Linked DNA regions of Homo sapiens: region 2 is linked to region 1. Evidence: promoter capture Hi-C in 16 types of primary human blood cells and fetal thymus (Javierre and others, 2016). All regions are on one chromosome and are shown on one strand. The core of a region is centred on a gene start or on the middle of the fragment in contact, and the rest is flanking DNA. Distances in the headings are between cores, read along the strand shown. Region 1 holds the start of CES4A (carboxylesterase 4A). Region 2 holds the start of TMEM208 (transmembrane protein 208).

What was found. The method cuts DNA at HindIII sites, captures the fragments that hold promoters and counts their contacts. A CHiCAGO score of 5 or more calls a contact.
Region 2: the fragment with the promoter of TMEM208 here is called in contact with the fragment with the promoter of CES4A in region 1 in 15 of 17 cell types (activated CD4 T cells, naive CD8 T cells, total CD4 T cells and 12 more); the score reaches 12.3 in activated CD4 T cells.

Annotation. Positions count from the first base shown.
Region 1 is chr16:66,987,090-66,990,051 of GRCh38, reverse strand. CES4A (carboxylesterase 4A) reads right to left here and starts at 1,463. Exons shown (of 14, transcript NM_001364782.1): 1 at 1,222-1,463. The coding sequence starts at 1,279. The HindIII fragment of the contact is 37,432 bases long and covers 1-2,962 here.
Region 2 is chr16:67,225,671-67,228,632 of GRCh38, reverse strand. TMEM208 (transmembrane protein 208) reads right to left here and starts at 1,503. Exons shown (of 6, transcript NM_014187.4): 1 at 1,409-1,503; 2 at 702-797; 3 at 219-278; 4 at 2-138. The coding sequence starts at 1,414. It also overlaps the pseudogene FBXL9P. RefSeq lists an enhancer at 1,351-1,700. The HindIII fragment of the contact is 11,037 bases long and covers 1-2,962 here.

The sequences.
Region 1 (2,962 bases), core at 214-2,713:
AAAAGAAAAGATGAAAAGAAAATGCGCCAAAATGTTAAAAGCGGAGTAAGCAAAGTTTCCTTCAAATTTAAAATAATGGATATATGTATATATGGGCAAAATTTATTTATGATAGAGGTCAGACTAGTGGTAACTTTGAGTATTGACTGAGAAGGAGTACATGGGACGCTGGAGATGGTTTTTTGTTTTTTTTTTTGAGATAGAGTTTCGCTCTTGTTGCCCAGGCTGGAGTGCAATGGCACGATCTCGGCTCACTACAACCTCTGCCTCCTGGCTTCAAGCGATTCTCCTGCCTCAGCCTCCTGAGTAGCTGGGATTACAGGCATGTGCCACCATGCCTGGCTAGTTTTGTATTTTTAGTAGAGACGGGGTAATAATATTGGTTAGGCTGGTCTCAAACTCCTGACCTCAGGTGATCTGCCCGCTTCGGCCTCCCAAAGTGCTGGGATTACAGGTGTATCCTTGTAAGTTAAAAAAACTTTTTAAAAAATGTTTTTTAAAAATAGAGACAGAGTCTATTTACCCAGGCTAGGTCTCACTATTTGCCCAGGCTGGTCTCAAACTCCTGGGCTCAAGTAATCCTCCCACCTCAGCCTCTCAAAGTGCTGGAATTACAGGCATGAGCTACCATGCCTAACCCACTGGAAATGTTCTAGATGTTGATCTGGATAATGGTTACCATATATATATATATAATAATTAGTATAATAGATATAATTATACAGTGAAGATGTGTGCACCTTGCTGTATACATCTTATACCTCAGTAAACTTTTGTTAATGTATTAGATTGTTTTCACAGTAAAAAGTGTAGTACTCATTTTAAAAAGAAAGATATTGGGGAGAAATTTGAAGGTGGTAAAGAGGTTCATGTAGCAGAGAGGGGGCAGAGACAGGCCTCCTGCTTAGGAGAAGGAAAGAAGGATGGAAGGAAGGAAAAAGGTGGGAAGGAAGAAAAGATGTGGCCATGTTCTCAGACCCCTTCACCTGTGCCGGGAGGCAGGAAATACAGAGAAGCCCTGAGGTTCAGGGAGGCTAAAGGACTTGTCCAGACTCCCAGCTGGTAGATGGTTTAGTGTCCTGAAACCCTACCCTCCATTTGCCCAGGCCTTGTCTAAGTGCTCCTGCCCTGCTGTCCCCAGGAGAGGTTGAACTGGGGCCTGTCCCTCCATCCCTTGTGCCCGTCTTGCCTGACACTCTCGGGAAGGGGTGGGGGTCTTACCCAAGGCCGTCTGCGCCATCAGGCAGAGGGTGAGGCTCCAGCACAGAATCCACCTCATGCTCCAGCCAGCTCCTGCTGTGGGCAGGAGTGATGGCAACACTGTGGATGGCAACACTGTGGATGGCATGGTAGCCGTGTCTACAGTGTGTGAGCACACTTTTATCTGCTCTTAATCCCTGCCAGCAAGTACTGGGGCGGGAGGAATTGTAACCAGCTTCTGACCAGCCCACAGCCTTGTCTCTGCCTTGGGCAACAGGTCACGCTAGATGATCTTGGCTCTTCAAACTGATCAGCCTGCAATCTCCGCCCCGTTTGCTCATCTGTGCAGTGGCTTAAAGCTGAACATGTGTGAGTCAAGGTCTAAGCATACAGTGGGTGCCAAGATTGAAGTAGAACACCTGGTTACTTGGCCCTTCAGCCAGGGCTTCCTGTCTGTGGATTTAAGGGTCTTGGGCCTCCCTGCTCCCCAGTGCCTCGTCTAGCCTCTTCCCTGCCTTTCCTCGCACATGCTGACCCTTGGCTGTCCTCACAGTTTCATAGTCCACATGCGGAAGCTGGACCTGAAAGCAACCGTAATGTGGGAGCCCAGAGGGGCACCCGAGGAGTGAGCCCAGAGCCGGGTGGTGGGAATGAAGATTCCCTGGAAAAGATCTAATCTTCTAAGTAAAGGATGAGGAGGAGTGGGCCAGGCAAAGAAAGATCCTGTTTGAAGTTTGGAGCCACAGGAGCAAGTGTGGGAGGTGGAAGCAAGGAGACAGCAGTCCCATCTTCAGTCAAAGGTAAGATGGGGCTGGGTGTGGTGGCTCATGCCTGTAATACCAGCACTTTGGAAGGCTGAGGCAGGTGGATCACCTGAGGTCAGGAGTTCGAGACCAGCCTGGCCAACATGGTGAAACCCCGTCTCTACTAAAACAAAGAATACAAAAATTAGCTGGGCGTGGTAGTGTGTGCCTGTAGTCCCAGCTACTCAGGAGGCTGAGGCAGGAGGATGGCTTGAACCTGGGAGGCGGAGGTTGTAGTGAGCCGAGATCGGGCCACTGCACTCCAGCCTGGGTGACAGAGTGAGACCCTGTCTCAAAAATAAATAGGCCAGGCACGGTGGCTCATGCCTGTAATCCCAACACTTTGGGAGGCTGAGGCAGGCGGGTCACGAGGTCAGAAGATCGAGACCATCCTGGCTAACACCCCGTCCCTACTAAAAATACAAAAAATTATCCGGGCGTGGTGGCACGCGCCCGTAGTTCCAGCTACTCAGGAGGCTGAGGCAAGAGAATTGCTTGAAACCAGGAGGCGGAGCTTGCAGTGAGCCAAGATGGCGTCACTGTACTCCAGCCTGGGCGACAGAGTGAGACTCCATCTCAAAGAACAAAAAAAAGGTAAGATGTTTCCTCTCTCGTGTACCCCCAAAGTCTGGGGTCCTGGCCCATCTTTGTGAAAAGAGGGTCTGTTGGGCTTCTGTGCTGGGGAGGGGAAAAGGCAGGGGAACAGAGAACTTCTCCCTTGGCCCACAGCCTCTTGCTCTATAGGCCTGACAGATGGTTAAACCTCCTTCTTTCACAGTCAATTTTCTGAGTTCTTCGGAGATGCTCTTTATTTGGGACTCCTCTCCCACAGTTCCCATCCTTGTGACCCTTCCTCAGTCCCAAGGAATGTGGCATTCACTGCCCAATCATTGCTGCCTGGGCTCTGTGCTCCTCTAATGAAGGCCCAAGATGACCCCCCACCCCTGCCTCTGCCACTT
Region 2 (2,962 bases), core at 254-2,753, 240 kb before region 1:
CTCTGCCATGCCCTGCTCCATGTTGAGGTCCATGCCACCATCCATCAGGGCCCCATCCTCAGAGAACGCTGCTCGTGCCATCGAGCTCATAGAGTGGTAGCTGGCCCCATACACTGCCAGACTAAAGCCCAGGGCCAACTGCAGAGCAAGAATGAGGGTATCAAAGGCCAGCCACTGACCCTACGCACTCATCCACCTCCCAGGATGGAGATACTTACCCAGGCCCAAAATGAGGCAGATGAGTAAAAGAAGACCAACGTCACAAGGCAGTAAATGGCCTGCAAGCAATCACAGGATCAGGTTGGGGTCAGAAGTTACCTCCAAACCATGGGTCTCCCTCAACTCTGACCAAGAATTAGGCCAGGCTGTGGGAGGAGCAAGGTTGTTCTTACAGGGTTGAAGAAAGGGCCCTGCTCCCTGAATCCCAAATACCCACTCTCCTCTGACACCCAACTCAGCCCAGGAAAGAAGCCTTTGTGTACTTGGAGGTAGGAAGAGCTCTCAAATTCAGCTACGACTCACGCCTTCATTTTCTTTGTGTTTTACTAGTTAGCACTTTCTCTGTGCCCAGATCTCTCATTTCTTTTTGACTGGAGCTCTCTTCTAGAGCTTTTTCGGGTACCACTCCTCGTCACCAAGCAGGGCTGAGGACTAGGGAACTGACTATAAGTGGGCATAGAAGCAAGGAGGTAGGCACTTACATTGGCCCCCAGTATGATCCGCAGGTAGAACTTCAGAGTCTCTCTGTTCTCTTCAAATATCTGCTTCTTCCCTCTCGTGCCCACTTTGCCCTTGGGCTGCAGAGGAATGATGAGATGCCGTCAGGAGGCCACGGTCCTCCTCATTCTCCCCACCAGCCTGGTGAGCTATAGAGCTCCATCCGCAACTCAGCCAGGTCCCCGTAGTGCAGAAACCTAGCAAAATCCCTGGGATGTCCACCCATCCTCCAGTCCATTCTGCCTAGGGCTGACGCCATCTCTCCAGCACCCGCAGCTAGGATCAATCGCCTCTTGCTCGCCCTGGAACAATTCAATCCTAAGCTAATACCGCCTCTGGATCCCGTGGTAGTCTGGCTTTAGGCTAACGACTCTTCCAAGGGTACTCCTGAGCGGAGTTGAATGGTGCCTCTCTCAGGCCTCCGCTGGCGTAGTCCCGATCTGGGTTAACCCCCACCTCAGGTCACTTAGATCTCTGGCCTGCCCTGGTACTGATGCCCACCCCGCTCTGGCACTAGTCCTGGTATGGTCCTGCGCCGCCATCCCCCCAGCCCAGCTCTAGCACGGTCTGGCCAGGGATGGCGCCCCGCTCTGGCCCACCCCATATCCCTTAATGTTCTTTCTCAGTTTTCACTCTCACAGCCCCTGGAGAGCTTTGCTGGTGCGGACCCCGCCCTATCCATCCTCCTTACCGCCATGGTGCGAGGCAAATACCCAGCCCGGGAAACACGGGAGAGCGACCGAAACCGCAATCACTAAGCACCACATCGGCAGCTCATGCACTTCCGGCGCAGACCGAAGTCGTCAGCTTTTGCGACGGAAATAGGTCTCACTTCCTTCCCAAGCCCCGCCCCAAAGAGGCGAGACTACATTTCCCAGAAAGCCTTGCGCAGTGGGGGCGGAGGCGGCAGGGATGCGATGGCGGAGTCGCTGCCCCTGGAGGTGAGAGGAAGCCGCCCTCAGGCCTAGCTCTGGACAGGCCCCGCCCTCGCGGTCCTGAGCTTTGGGGAGGGGCTGTCAGATAGCTAGCCCGGCCCCTCCAGCCTGGCGGAAACGACCCGCCCTCCCGATCCCGGGACCTTCTAGCTCTGGGTAACGGTTCCTCCTTTGGGCCACTCTGTCCCTTTAGCTTGGGGGACCGTCCTCCCCTTCCCTATCGGCCCCAGAAGATAGCTGCCCTGTCATCTCCGCGAGAACAGGCCCTCTGCCCATCCCCTTCCCTTGAAGTGGCTGTCTCCTCCCCGCTCAGTTCTGGAAGATGTCCGCTCCATCTCATCGTCCCGAAGGGTAACTGATCTTATCCCCATTGGTCCCTTGGGATGATCTCTCCATTTCCTACAGAGACGGCCGCCCCTTCTCCCTGGCAGTGGGAAACAGACTGCTCCCTCCCCATCAACTGCAATGATCTCTGAGTTCCTTTAACAAGGATAGGCCTGTTCCCCATTCCTAGGCCCCTAGTGATGGCCGCCCTTACCTCTTTCACTCCGTGGGATGTTTGCTCCTTCCCCTTAGCCAGGGGCAAGACCACTCTGCCCCATCTGCCAGGGAGATAACAGGTTTTGTCTTCAGTGGCCTGTTGGAATGGCTTCTCCATCTCTTTTGTCCTGAGGGTTGGCAGCCCCCTCTCTCTGCCCATGGGAAACAGGCCACCCTTTCCCATCGGTCCTGGAATGATGCTCCTGTCCTTAGCAAAAATAGGCCTGTTCCCACCCCTATTGAGCTTGCAGTGCTATCCCTTTCCCCCTTAGCTTTAGGGGCTATCTATTTCCATCCCCATAGACCCCATGAGTGACCAATCATTATCTCCAGTAGCCCCCTTGAGATGGGACTCATGGGATGGTCACTCCATCCTCATCACTGCCTCCTCTTGTCCCTCTAGAAAGGCCACCCTCTTCTTAGGTCAATGAATTGTGTCCCTTCCCGACTCACCCCAAGGGATGACAGGTTTGTTCCCCTCTCCCTTTGCTCTTGGGCTGGCTGCTTAGCCCCAGAAGACAGGATGGCCACTGTCTTAACTCAGCTCAAACAGGCTTCCGTGCCTCCCTGGAGGGATTGGGACTTGGTCAGTCCCAGTCCCCATCAATACTGTCTTCCCTATGCCTCCCTTCCTGGCCCAGAAGTCTATTCTGCCAGTCATTGTCCTCTCAGTAATGACTGCTTTATTTCCCCGACCCCTTCCCTGAGCATACTCTTGGTGAAAATAGAGGTAGAGGACTGGACTGTCCAACCTTAATTTAATCCAGTAA